2 separate regions of the Homo sapiens genome follow, and region 1 is linked to region 2. Evidence: promoter capture Hi-C in human tissues and cell types (Jung and others, 2019). All regions are on one chromosome and are shown on one strand. The core of a region is centred on a gene start or on the middle of the fragment in contact, and the rest is flanking DNA. Distances in the headings are between cores, read along the strand shown.

Region 1 (7,165 bases), core at 363-2,862, 430 kb before region 2:
TTAAAGATGCGGAAGTTTATTTTTATAGATATGTAGAAAAATAACATTTCTTTAATGTAATGCAGGTGACTTGGGAGAAAAGGGGGAGCGTGGCCCTCCAGGAAGAGGTCCCAACGGTTTGCCTGGAGCTATAGGTCTCCCAGGTAAGTGTGTTGTATAGCTGAGAGGAGGAGGTAGCGAAATTGGTAGCAAGTACACAGCCTGAATTGAATAAAATTTTAAAATAATTGTTATTTGATCACTTAAGCATATTAATTATTCAGAATGGCTAGCATAGATTTTTCAAGACCAGCTTTAGTAAAGAATTAAATGATCTGTAAATCAAATCAGAAAATAGGTATCAGGACTTGAAATACTAATTTCCTTAAATAGATGCTTCAAGAAAAATAGTGTCAAGGTCCAGGCACAATGCACTTGTTATAAAATTCTGAATAAATTGGATCCTATCTATTTCTAAAGCAGGTGATAGTTTCCTGTTTTTTTTTTTAATCTAAAATGCCAGAGCAGTAGGAAGATTAGCCTGTTTTTAATCTCTTGCACAAGGAGTAACTGAAATTTTATTTTTAAAGCTCCCCTTTCAAACACCCAGACCCTCCAAAACCCCACATCCAAAAAGAAAGAAAGAAAGAAAATACAAAACTGAACATTCCTGCTCATAATCACTAAGAGCCACACATCACAGCTGTGTCAACTGAGGTGACAGGGTAGCCCTTGTGTGAAGGGCCCAGATTCTCTCACTGGGCCTTCTGTTCTCTTTATACACTGGCTACCCTGTCACCAGAGTCCAGGCTGGAACACACTTATCCCTTAGGAAATGACTTACAAGCCCAAGCACAGAGGCAACATAGCAGGGCCAAAAGCCAGTTCAGTTTAAGGGCATGAATGATGCGCAACTTTCCAGCAAACGCTCTCTTATTGTGGGGAGGCAGTGGCTTAGGAAGGCTCCCAAAGCCCTAGGGGTCTGTTGCTGAGGAGAGTTGAGATGATACTTGCTTCCACAATGGTTTGGGAAAACTTGGCTTAGGGAAGTTTAGGAAAAGAAATTACAATTTTCTAATTCTGCCAGAGGCTGATGTATTTAATCACAGCTATAATTGTAGCCAAAAACATCATTGCTTTCCAATTATCCATTTCATTGCTTCTGGGGATTGTGTTCTCATTAAAAAATTTTTTAAAAAAACATGAATGTTTGGAGATAACTCAAACACTGCCTTTCTAAAACTGATTCATGGGCTCATCAAAATGTTTTCACATATTGATAAATTTTTATAATTGGAAATGGAAGATTTATGATTAGTAATGAAAGGAAAATCTGGCTTAAATGGGATTTAGAGAAGATTTTAATATACGGTAAAGCTTGGATTCATTGATGGGTGTGTAGAGGAGAGGAAAAGGAAATAGAATTTACTAAAGGTGCCTGTCTCCATCACCAGTAGTAGGAATAGGAAGTTTTGAGGCTGACAACATACCATCATCACAATTTACTTAATTATCTATATATTTATGAGAAAGCCTAATAACTCCTTCTTCTCTCATTTTATTGACAAATCGCTTAACAGTTCTTGAACCAATGACTTGCACTATTGGCAACATTTTCCTTTATTGAAAATGTATTATGGTTTATAGGGATTCTCACTTTGAAAATAATCTGTTGGTAAGCCACAATTTAAATGTAAAGATGAGAAGATTGAGAAGATCAGCTCCATGTGTGCTGTGTCCCAGACTGTCAGAAGCACATTATCTCCCACCTGCAGTAAACCATTTTCAGGAGCCAAGTTGATGGGGGGCGCAAACGGGGCACACAGTCAGTCAGAGGGGCTTCCCCGACTTGCTTTTTAGAACATCAGACCATCCACGTGTAAGTAAATTGTGAGGCAGGACAAGATCATCATTTGCAGCCCTCCCTAGGATCGCTTACAAACAAAATTATTAATTTTAGCTGATCTTGGATTTAATCTTAAATCTGAATTGTTGAAACATTTTGTGGACCCCCTGATCCAGGGGACTCCTAATACCTGTCCTTTCTGTTTTCCTTTTCCTTTCTTCCTTTGGCCAGTCCTTGCCCCTGCTTTCCTGGGATCACCTCCAAAATCGTTGCCCTCCTCTGATCTCTCCCCTCCTCTCACTTTGCTCTCCCCATCAGCTCTGATTATCTCCCATCCTTCTCACCTCCCAGCTGACTCTTCTTTCTTGATTTCCTTGTCCTGGTTTCTATGTCTCAACCTCGGTAACCTTCCTTTTTTGGACTTTTGTTACCTTTTAATTGAGACGATATCTGACATTATTTAGTGACAAATCTGAGTTCCAGATTATTTTTCAGGAATATAGGCTAACTTTCAAAAGCACAGATGCCAGAGAAGAGGGGTCTGCTGGTGGATCGTTTTCTGCGCTTTGGCGCGGTGTCCTCGTGTAGTGCGCAGGTGAAAGCACCAGCTGAGGGCTTGGGTTTCGAGGTCGGCCCACATTCTCTTGTTGACACCGTGCATATGCTCAAGTCAGTCAAGTTCCTGACATGAGCTTTTTGGGTCATTCCTCCCTTAAAGCTAGTACCTGGAAGTGGGCTGTTTGAAGAGTGGCATCTACAATTCAGACATCCTAGGTTCACGTTTTGACTATGCCACTAACTAACTTTATGATATTGGGCATTTTACTTAATTTCTCTACACCTCAGTTTTCCCATTTATAAAACAGTGATAACAAGAACATCTCTCTGATAGGGTAATTCTGAGAAATAAAGAAACTCAATCCATGTAAATTGCTTAAGACAGTTCCTGGCTATAGTAGGCGCTCAAGAAATGTTGGTTGTTCATACTATTATTAATATATCAAGTCCACTTTTTGCTTTTTAAGGTGGATCAAGGAAAGCTGAGGGCAAAGTTGGGCCCCAGTTCAGCCCCTGCAGCTTTTTTCTCTTGCCGTTGATCAGCAGTAATATATTACTCTTCTCTAAATCAGCACCGCCCCTGATGCCCAGACCTTCCCTCCATGAAAGTCTACTTCAACTCCAAATCACAAATGCGAAGTACTGGGTAGCAGTACATCTTTTCACTGGTTAATTGTCCACTGAGGCTATACTGCTTTTTATTTCTTGGTAGAGCTTGAATGTGACTAGGAATGTGATTTCTGATCTCTCAAAAACATAATATTAATAGGACTTTAAGGCCTGATGAAACTTCAAAAGGATTCTGTGCAGTAATTTGTCTGGAACCGTCTAGATAAAAAAATTCTTTTCTTACCTAAAATAAAGAAACTGCAGAACAGCATAGTCTGCAACCTTCTTTGTTGTTCCTGTTGTTGGATTTGGGGCTCAAATCCTCCTGAATAAAAAAAAAAAAGATAGTTGGATCATTCTTTGTGCTAAGGCATTTAACATATTTTTAACGATGTAACTAATATCATCATTTTCTATCGGTTGTTAGAGTTCCTGTATTCTTTCTGGACAGTTTTAGTTCCCTGTCTCCCCTCTCCAATGCTGTATCTCTGTTTGTTCAGTGTTAAGTATTACATGCCCTGCAGGGACATAATGCTCATTGCTTGTTATGGAACACAGGTTATTATTATAACCTTTACATTGATGATCATTTTGGCTACAGTGCTTTGTTGTTTAAAAAGTACACATGCACAATCTAGTTTGTTTCTCACAGCCAGGAGTAGGCTGGGTGAATATTTAAGAAGTGCAGACATGGAGCCAGGCTGCCAGGGCTTATGCACTATTCTTTTACCTTGAAGTGCTTCAGTTTCCTCTTCAGTGAATGGGAATCACTATGCCTACCTTGTATTTAGAGCATATATGCACATGTTAATACATGTAAAGCTCTTGGAACAGTGCCTGGCATATGGCAAACAGACACTCTGACATTATTTAGTGAAATTTAACTGTTATTATTGTTGCTCCCTTTTTTTATAATATATTTGAGAAAATACAGACTCTTAAATTCATGTCCTGACAAAAGTCTGTCAGGTAATAACAAGACAGATATTCATGCTTCCTGAGTCTATGTTCCCAAAGTGGACAGAATGATTGGCTGGCTGTCTAATCATACGATTAGTTTTTCTTTGCAACCTAGACATGTGAATTGAGCATGTCCCATAATTGCTGAGTGTCTCGCTTCTTTCTCTGCCTCTCTTGCAGAGCTACGTGGATCACATTAGCAATCCCTGGAACTTTAGTCTCCCCCGCCTTCAGTTTTGTGCCACAGGTCAGCTAGTGTTATTGCTTGGTCGGTTGTCTCAAAGACTCTCTCTGCTGCCACCAAACTTGCCCATTGGGACTAGTTCCTCGTCACTCTGAGAATTTTAAAGGAACATATTTATTAATAATAAAGAGTCCTGACTTCCTCTTTGTGCACTCACTAGGGCAAAACATAAATTAAATGACAAATCATTTGAATGTGAACACTAGGAAGGTGACTTGTGAGCTAAGGTGCTTTTTGCCTCTTGGACATGGAAGTTGTAGCTGGCTTTGTGCTGGACTATGCTAGGTTATAAGAGTATTTGGTTTTCTTGTGCAAAGTCCACAGAAAGGTGAGCTTTGCTTGAGACTATTGAGTGGAAAAATACACACGCACACATTCAGTTCTGGGCTAAGTTTTTCAGTACCTAATTTTTCCATTTCCATTGCTGCAGCTGTTTTATTTGGTTGCTGGGCCTTACATAAACCAGTTTATAATTCCTTAAACATATACTGCTTTGTCAAATACCACAACATTAAGCTCAAGAAATATAAGAAACTCCTGGTACATACAAAAAGTCTACATAACCAGTGGATTAATTATGAAATACCCTATTTAATGTGAAAATTATTCACTTTTTTTGTTTTGACTGTATACACAGTCCCTTTTACGCCACAGCATGTATTAGGTGAGGGGCTGCCTCCAGAATGATCCAGCCGAGATGGGCTTCCATCAGTGTAACATGACTACCCTCTAGTGGTTTTATAGAGAATGACATAGCTATTCATTTGTTTAAAAAAAAAACGTTTAGCAATAATTTTAAATATTTTATTTTATTTTAATTGACATATAATAGTTATACATATTTATGGGATATGTAGTAATGTTTCAATAGAAATATTACATAATGACCAGATTAGGGTAATTAGTATATCCATCATCTCAAACATTTATCATTTCTTTGTATTGGGAATATTCAACATATTTATAGGTCCTTGACATTTCAGAAAACCATGTAATCATTAGGCAGTTAGTGTAAGTAATACACACATGAGGCAGGCAGAGCAGAATAACACTTTAGATGCATGTTTTCTCTTTCTGAAGAGTTACAAAGCAGTTGATAGATATTCATGAATGTAGCTGCTGGGCTAACCATTTATGCCCATTTTGTGAACCGTTATTATGAGTCAGCTTCACTTTTTGAGTGATGTGGACTGTGGACATAGTGTCACCCAACTGAGGCTCCCACATAGTTTAGAACATACATGAGAGCAAAGGCCCTGGGTCAGGGCTTTCCAGAGCCTGACAATCTGCTATGTTAAGGCTGTTTTTTTTTCTCTGGTATTTCTACAGGGCAAAACCTCAGAGAAATATCTTAGTTTCTTATGATCATTAGAGCTCTGCAAAAGTCAATACTGTGCTTTGTTTTTGTACCTCTGTCTACTTCCTGGTCAACTCAGGCCCAAGGAATTAAAAAAAATGACCACACACACACACACACACACACACACACCCTGCCACACCCCTCCACACCCTTCCACAGAGTTAAAAAAATCAATAGGTAGGAAAATACAGTTAGTGCAGTGGTTAAGGGTCCTCATTTCTGGCTATATGACTATGGACAATTATTTGACCTTCCTAACTCTCAGTTTATGCATGAGAAAAATGGGCTCAATAATGAGCATAGTGTATGCCCATGGAAAAGAGAAAGCATTCTCATTAAGCATTTGTGGTGATGATGATGATGATGATGATGATGATGACATCATCAAAAGCTCCAAAGGGTAAATTGCTGCATTTGCCAAAGGCAGAACTGGATGAGATGCATGCTTCATAAAATAAATCAAGGGTAGACAGGATGGCTTCATCGACTCTTCCTTCAGAGGATAAGCAGCAATTTGGAATAAACTCAGCAAGGTAAAAAAGAAAAAGAAAAACTTCTCCTGAAGTGTGTTGATGGGGAACCAAATGTGAAAATCTAAAAAGCTATCCTTCTGCTTTTTAATATTGTTAGTGTATTAGAGAATAAATTACTTAAAACTTAAGGTTTTTGGCTGGCTCTACAAATGTTGAAAAAAATTTGAATTAGTTGCTAACATTTAAACATTGGGAGATATTTATTTAAAGACTCAGCTTCCTGGCCTCTCTTGAAAATTATCAGAAGTTCTGGCAACACTGGCCTGTATTCCCCGATGACAGCTGTTAGCTGGAGAAGAGCTGCTGCCCGCATCCACTTTCCAGCTCACCACAGGCCTCACTCCTCCCTTTGGTCTCCCCAACACTTACGTGGAATATTAGTGGCCAAATTTCATTGCATTTGTACTTTACGTTTTCATCTGGTAAAAACAGTGGGGGAATTTCTTAATCCAGGCTTGTTTCTTTATAACATCAGGGATCAGCAAACTTTATTTGTGAAGGATCAGATTATTTGGCTATGGGCACCATATTGCAGCTATTTAACTCTGCCCTGGTACGCCAAAGCAGCCACAGACAATATGTAAACAAATGACCATGGTCGTGTTCTAATAAAACTACAAAAACAAGATTTAGCTCATGAGCTGAAGTTTGCCCACCCCTGATCTCAATGACCATCCCAGCCCCTGTGCTCATTTGGTTTTCTACCTCTTCTTTGGGCATTTCCTTCTCCTAAACTTGATTTGATTTTAAGGCACACCTGGTATGTCTCAGTGGGAACATTCCTAGTGATAAGGTGCATGAAAATCGGATTTAGATCTGGCTCATCTTTTAAACCTTAAAAAAATCAACTTCACCTTTAACTGCATCTGGTGTTAAGGATCTTAACAGGTGCTGCTAAGGGCATAGTTCTGCTACAGCTTTATCTATAGATGCTGTGGATTAGGGAGAAGCTTTCTCAGGGACCTCATCATTAAAAGAAAACACATAATGATCTGCTTCATACTTACTAGGTATAGTTGAATGAAAGTATATGGGATAAATTAGGGAAAATTACTTATATCTCTGCTTATCTATAG
Region 2 (6,873 bases), core at 1,053-3,552:
GGAGAGTGTCCTCGGCTGATCAGGATGCATATCAACATTTTGCAAGGAAGAGTCTTTGATTTGAGCAGAACCTTTGGTGGCAGATGCTAGATGCTGATCATGAGTGACAGTAAGACAGTGTCTGTTAAGATGGCTATCTTGAGCTGTTGAAGTTCTACTCTTTTTATAGCCTCAGAGTCCTCTGGTGTTGACTGATAGTAAAGAGTGTGCCTGCAATAGCAAATACTTGGAACCAACTGAAATGTCCATCAGTGATAGACTGGATTAAGAAAATGTGGCACATATACACCATGGAATACTATGCAGCCATAAAAAAGGATGAGTTCATGTTCTTTGTAGGGACATGGATGAAGCTGGAAAACATCATTCTCAGCAAACTATTGCAAGGACAGAAAACCAAACACCACATGTTCTCACTCATAGGTGGGAATTGAACAATGAGAACACTTGGACACAGGAAGGGGAACATCACACACTGGGCCCTGTTGTAGGGTGGGGGAAAGTGGGGAGGGATAGCATTAGGAGATATACCTGATGTAAGACTAGTTAATGGGTGCAGCACCTCAACATGGCACATGTATGCATATGTAACAAATCTGCACGTTGTGCACATGTACCCTAGAACTTAAAGTATAATAATAATAATAATAATAATAATAATAATAATAAAAGAGTGTGCCTGGTTATGTCGTTATCTGGTTGGGTGCAGTCTCTATTGATTAGGTGAACATCTGGTCCCTTTTGGCATGATTCCTTTTGAAATGTAAACAGAATCTTTTTCTAAGAAGTAGTTACTTATGTCAAGGGTGCTCTATACAATCTGGAATAGAGATATCAACCTGGAAGCGATACCTCTCTTCACTTTAAGGAAGCTATGACAGAGGTCTCCAGGGATATGAATTATTAGGAAGAAAGAGTGAAATTCAAACATTTGCAGGTCTAGAGGGCTTAAAGCCAGCTTATGATGGTACCAGTTCAAGTTAAAACTGTATTCTCCCCTATTCCCTTCTTATTCTGTCCAGGCAGGAAGGACCATCCTATTTTTTCCCTCAGGCTTCCAGCCGGAAGTAGATTATAGGTAGAGCATAACTCATCACCACATAATACATTGGAAAAAGATGATGGTATTTTTTCTCAGAGTTGTTTCTTGACTACATCACAGTGGTGAAACATGCACTCACACCCCTGTGGACTCAGGTAAGCCATCCCAAGAGTTTCCTCCCTGTGGACTCAGGTAAGCCATCCCAAGAGTTTCCTCCTTCTTCTTCATTGTGGGCCTATGGCAGTGTGTTTTGTTTGCTGATGCATATACCTTTACATACAAAGCTATCATGGAAATTCACAGGCATGCATACATCTGAATAGAAAGGCTATAACATCATGTGATAAGTTCATGTCCAGCCAACCAGTTATCCCGGCTGGGCACCAGTGCCAGTAAATTAGAGTGATTTGGGCAGCTAGTCAACTTTTATTCAGAGTCAGCTGTCTCATGCGTCCGTGTGAAGAGACCACCAAACAGGCTTTGTGTGAGCAACATGGCTGTTTATTTCACATGGGTGCAGGCGGGCTGAGTCCGAAAAGAGAGTCGGCAAAGGGTGGTGGGATTATCATTGGTTCTTACAGTTTTTCGGATAGGAGGTGGAGTGAAGAGCAATGTTTTGGGGGTAGGGGGTAGATCTCACAAAGTACATTCTCAAGGGTGGGGAGAATTACAAAGAAACTTCTTAAGGGTGGGGGAGATTATAAAGAACATTGATCAGTTAGGGTGGGGCAGAAACAAATCACAATGGTGGAATGTCATCAGCTAAGCTATTTTCACTTCTGTGGATCTTCAGTTGCTTCAGGCCAGCTGGATGTATACGTGAAGGTCACTGGGGATATGATGGCTTAGCTTGGGCTCAGAGGCCTGACATCAGCCATTCTTGCAACCTGGTAAGGAGTTCTGCTAATCACACACATTCCACCTTGTACACGAGGGCCAAACTTCCTTTTGGTGAAGAAGTATAAACCTCTAAAATTGACTTGGATCTCCAGGTCCACCTAGCCCATTCTTTGTGGAGTTCCCTTGCTGTTCTAGTCTATCAACTTAGGCTGAGTCAAATATCTCAATAGGTTGCCCAGCTATGAGCCAACACCCTGCTCTGCAGCCCTCCCACATCTCAGCTTGCAGGGAAGCCAGCGAGGGCAGCGTGGTGATGTCACTGCGTCCGCACGCGCCCCGCCCCTGAGCAGTCCTTGCTGCCCCGCCCCCGCTCGGCTCGCCGCCAGGGGACGCTAGTGGGTCCAGTCTCCTTGGCAACCACTTGCTCCTCCCCCTCCGCCCCTTTAACCTTTAGGGTGCGCGGGTGCAGTATATCTCGCGCTCTCTCCCCTTTCCCCCTCCCCTTTCCCCACCCCGGGCGCTCAGGTTGGTCTGGACCGGAAGCGAAGATGGCGACTTCTGGCGCGGCCTCGGCGGAGCTGGTGATCGGCTGGTGCATATTCGGCCTCTTACTACTGGTAGGGGAGGCGCTTGGAGTTTTCCCCATGTTTGGACTGGGGGAGGAAGGGAGGGGCAGGCCCTGCAGTTGGCCTCTCCGGGCCCCGGAGACCCTCTTCGCCCCGCCCCGCTTTTAGCTTGGACTGTGGAGGGCTCCTTAGTGTTGGGGGCTTGGGCGGGCGGCGGGGGCAGGGGGGTGTCGATTTCCGGTCTCTTTTGCTGTCATTTCACCGATGACGTCTAGGGTTGCAGGGTCCTTTTTGGAAGCTCTTGCCGTCATCGCTGACTTGGGCAATGGGGCCGGTGGGGTTTGGGGGCGGAAGAGACCCTCGGGGTTGAGAAGTATGTGGTGGCCTTTCGTCCCCTGTAAAACATTGTCACACGGTGTGGGGCGGCAGCGCTGGATCTTTGCAAGTTAAGTAGGCGCTGGCGTTGTTTACTTGTCACCTTCTCTGTATGTTTTTTCCCTCATTTTCCCTACCCTTGGGGCTAGTGAGTCTCCAACCTCTGTGCCCATTGTGTGATTCTGCCTTGATGACGTGAGTTGCTCGTTCTGACTTCCAGGTGTCACATTCTCTTCTAATCTTTTTTTGATTGGTGTAGATACCTGTGGAGGGCGGAGCTGTAGCCCTCTTTATTACCAGTATCGGAGTATATACTACTACCTGTCTGACCTCAGGTGCTTTCTTTTCCAACGATCTTATTTCTGCATATTCAGTGAGCAAAGTGTAGATAGAAATGTCTCAGAGTGGCCTGGCTATTACTTCCCTGTTCATATTAAAACCCTTTGGTTTATTTGGGAGTTCAATTTATTTCCTTTCATAACTTCTCTACCTTCTCAAATCTTCTCTTTTCTCATCGTCCGAGGCTGTAGTTACTTTCTGTTCTCACGTATTTTGACCTTTTTGCATTGCAAAACAAAAACCTCCAGTTCTGGAAATCAGGCTTGTTTGGTTTTACTTTAATTGTCAGATCCAGTTGGTGTCTGGTACCTATGTAGTATGTTCTAGTAGATTTTTGCAGTAGAGACTAAAAAAAGAAAATAAAAGAAAAGAATGGTGTGAAAATTTAAGAAAAGGATCCTCTTGTTACTGCCATCACTGTCACAGATAAAAACACTGCCTTTACCCTGGAACATGTTAGTCCTCTCTTGGAGGAAATGAAACCCTAAAGGTTGACTGTGGTCTCTGCAGCCACCCAGTCCTGTATTTGGAGAGCCCCCTGGCTTTTCCAGTCCATCAGATTTAGTTTGTTTAGAAAAAAATAAATAAGCATGTAATGTATGAAAGTTACGTGAGACTATCTTGGCAGTTATAAATTAATAAACATTTACGGTACAGAAGTGGTGTGAATTGTAAGAGGATGTAAACCAAACAAAATACGGCTTTAAAGAGGGCCTGAAGATAAGTGAGAAAACTGAAATTCTTGAAACATGTATTTTATGGACCGAAAGCCAAAGTGTGACTATAAATAAAGCAGGACTTAAGAGAATAGACAACAATATTGGAAGAAAATGAGAATTGTGGTAGAGTTTGGATAGATGAAGAAGAGAGGCCATTTAAGTTGGCAATATTACAGCAAGGACAAATAAAATCAGAATTGAATGTTGTCGTGGATAAAAGCATTAGGAAGAAGGACTTTTGTTTAAATTTCTGCAAATCTCTTTAAATCCTGGTTTATTAGAAGAAAGGCTGGTTTCTTTTGTTGCCTTCTACATTCAGTCTTTTGGGGTATGTTATTTTAGTCGAAGTGTATGGAGAAAATACAGCTGCAATGATAGGTAGTCAGAAACAGAGGAGCGTTTTTCAGATAATTGTGGATGTTTTTTGACACTACACCAAAGCTCAACAAGTGGAAGATTCATGTCAGCTGCAAGGTGGAATCTGAAACCCTATCAATGAGCATTTCATTCATTGTTACATTAAAATCCATTAGCCCATCTTGCACTTTGAAAGGCTCTTTTACCCATGCATGGTTTTATAACATGATGCCATGGCCACTTAGAAAATGTTGGTTTACTGAGTTATGCACATCTTTTAAATATGGATACGTTTCATTACACAATATCAAAATATCACATTTCATTAAATTACAACTGATCTTGTCAGAAATGTCTCTGAAAATTCTAAGTATTGAAGAGTTGTCAAGCTCATACTTGTGGATGTAAGTCTTTCAAAATCCAATTTTCATTTGAAAGTTTGACTCATAATTATCATTGGTATCAAATACTGTCAGTTTTTCTTTAAGTGATAGATTCCCTTTGTTCATTTGACAAAATCTGCCAAAAAGCGAAGTCTGAATAACCAGTTTGACAATTGTTCTTTCAAGTAAAAATGGTGTTCCTTGAAGAGTGGTTGGTTTAGCTTTTAACTCTAAACTTTTCCTGGAGATAGCCATCACATCTTGGTATGCAGCAGGACTTTATGTACGCATGCTTCATATTTTACCCCACAAAGTATTAAAAAGAGTCAAGGGTTGAATTTCAATAAAATGAATTTATGCTGCTTTGTGAAGCACAGTCTTAATTTAAATTGTCCCTTTTTGAACTTGTGGTGAAGAATACAATGATTACTGGTGCAGTTTGGTGCCACTGTCTTGATTCACGCTAATGCACCAGTAGTTTTACCCACTGTGGCTATGAACCATGAGTGCAAATGTCAGCACAGTGAAAAAGGCAAATAGCATCTTAGTATTTATTATGAGAATAGTTTTCAACTTCTGAATCTCCAGAAAGGATTCTGGGGACTACCAGGGCCTAGGGATTTCACACTTGGAGAACTTCTGCCAATCATCTACTAAATATTCAGGACATGGGCCAGGTGTGGTGGCTCACACCTGTAATCCCAGCACTTTGGGAGGCTGAGGCAGGTGGATCAGTTGAGCTCAGGAGTTGAGACCAGCCTGGGCAGCATGGCAAAGCCCCATTCCTACTAAAAATACAAAAAATTAGCCGGGCGAGGTGGCAAATGCCTGAGGTTCCAGCTACTCAGAAGGCTGAGGTGGGAGGATTGCTTGAGCCCAGGAGGTGGTTTGTGGAGGCAGTTGCAGCAAGCTCTGATAGTGCCTGGGCAACAGAGGGAAACTTCGTCTCAAAAAAAAAAAAAAAAAAAAAAAGATTCAGGACATGAATGTTGCCTACTTTTGTGATCGTGGGCAAAAAGAATGGACTTCAGTTTCTTCACACATAAGGAATTGTTAGATTTGGTATCTCATGCCTGTAATCTAACTATGTCTGTCTTTACTATATCAAATCTAAACTGTTCTATCTAGCTTCAATGTCCTCTGTAATTTGGCTCACACCACCTTTAAATTGTATTTGCCATTACAATAGGAGACTCTCCATTTTTGTAAAGCAAATTTATTCTTGTTCCTTAAAGTGTGGGCATCATCTGGGAACTTGTTAGAAATACCAAATATGTGACCCCAGTCCTACTGAATCAGATCTGCAGTTTAACAAGATCCCATACAGTATGTCATCTATTCTCATTAGTTTAATGAAGATTCATCTCTTCTCATTCCTTCTTCTGCCCCAGTGGTTTGCAAACTTGACCTTTCATCAGAACCACCTGGGGAGTTTTAAAAATCTCAGTGTTCAGACCAATTTATTTTGAATCTTTTGGGAGAAGCTGGGGGGACTATTTGAAACTTTTCTTTATAATTGTTAACAGAGTTATATATTTGTTTCTTTTATCAAATTATCTAATAACTACTACTGTTTGTTAAGCAGTTACTATGGCCAGCCACTATGGTAAACCCTTTATATCTCATTTAATCCTTATAACTTGTTATGAAAGAAGTATTCCTATAGACGAGGATACTTGGTTTTATTTTATATTGTAGTAATGATTGATAACATGAACAAAAAGCTCTTTAAGGTTATCAGTTTTAAAACCATTATAAAGGGATTCTGAGACCAAAAAGTTTGGGAATCTCTGGCTTAACTCTTCTGCCTGGTTGCCGTTTCCTAGCTTGTCTGCCTGATATTGGCAAAATCCTTTGTTTGCAGTAATACCTACAAAATGCAGGTTTTCTTTCATTCTTGAAATCCAATAAAAAATTTATTGGAACACTTTGTGTCAAGTACTGCTGAGGATATAAAGATGAGACTCAGCTTTCAAAGACTTCAGAATGAATTTGGGGAATGTTAAAAATATTTATGAATTCCTTTAAAAACAAGCTCATTCAAATATTAATACAAAGTCACATTTTATGAAAAATAAATTTCCCAAAATCAAGAATTTGAGCCTAGATCCTTTTTGTTTGTTTGTTCCAAAGTCTTAACTCCCTTCTCAGTCAATTCTTTCCTGCTATTCTGTCACCAGTTGAAAGGCCAGCAGTATGAAGCAATGACATGCAGCAACTTGGATGGGTTTTAAATGCACTGTGCCAAATGA

Evidence for each region. The method cuts DNA at HindIII sites, captures the fragments that hold promoters and counts their contacts. A contact is called where the count stands out against the background at its distance.
Region 1: a contact is called between a fragment that was not itself captured here and the fragment with the promoter of LMBRD1 in region 2, in 1 of the 25 tissues and cell types used here (dorsolateral prefrontal cortex).

Annotation. Positions count from the first base shown.
Region 1 is chr6:70,218,910-70,226,074 of GRCh38, reverse strand. It overlaps COL9A1 (collagen type IX alpha 1 chain), which reads left to right. Exons shown (of 38, transcript NM_001851.6): 37 at 66-143. Among named protein-coding and RNA genes, the nearest start is that of COL9A1, 81 kb to the left of the region's middle. The HindIII fragment of the contact is 5,172 bases long and covers 1-4,198 here.
Region 2 is chr6:69,792,439-69,799,311 of GRCh38, reverse strand. LMBRD1 (LMBR1 domain containing 1) reads left to right here and starts at 2,302. Exons shown (of 16, transcript NM_018368.4): 1 at 2,302-2,499. The coding sequence starts at 2,431. RefSeq lists enhancers at 2,381-2,610, 2,239-2,794, 2,921-2,970, 2,795-3,351. The HindIII fragment of the contact is 20,594 bases long and covers 1-6,873 here.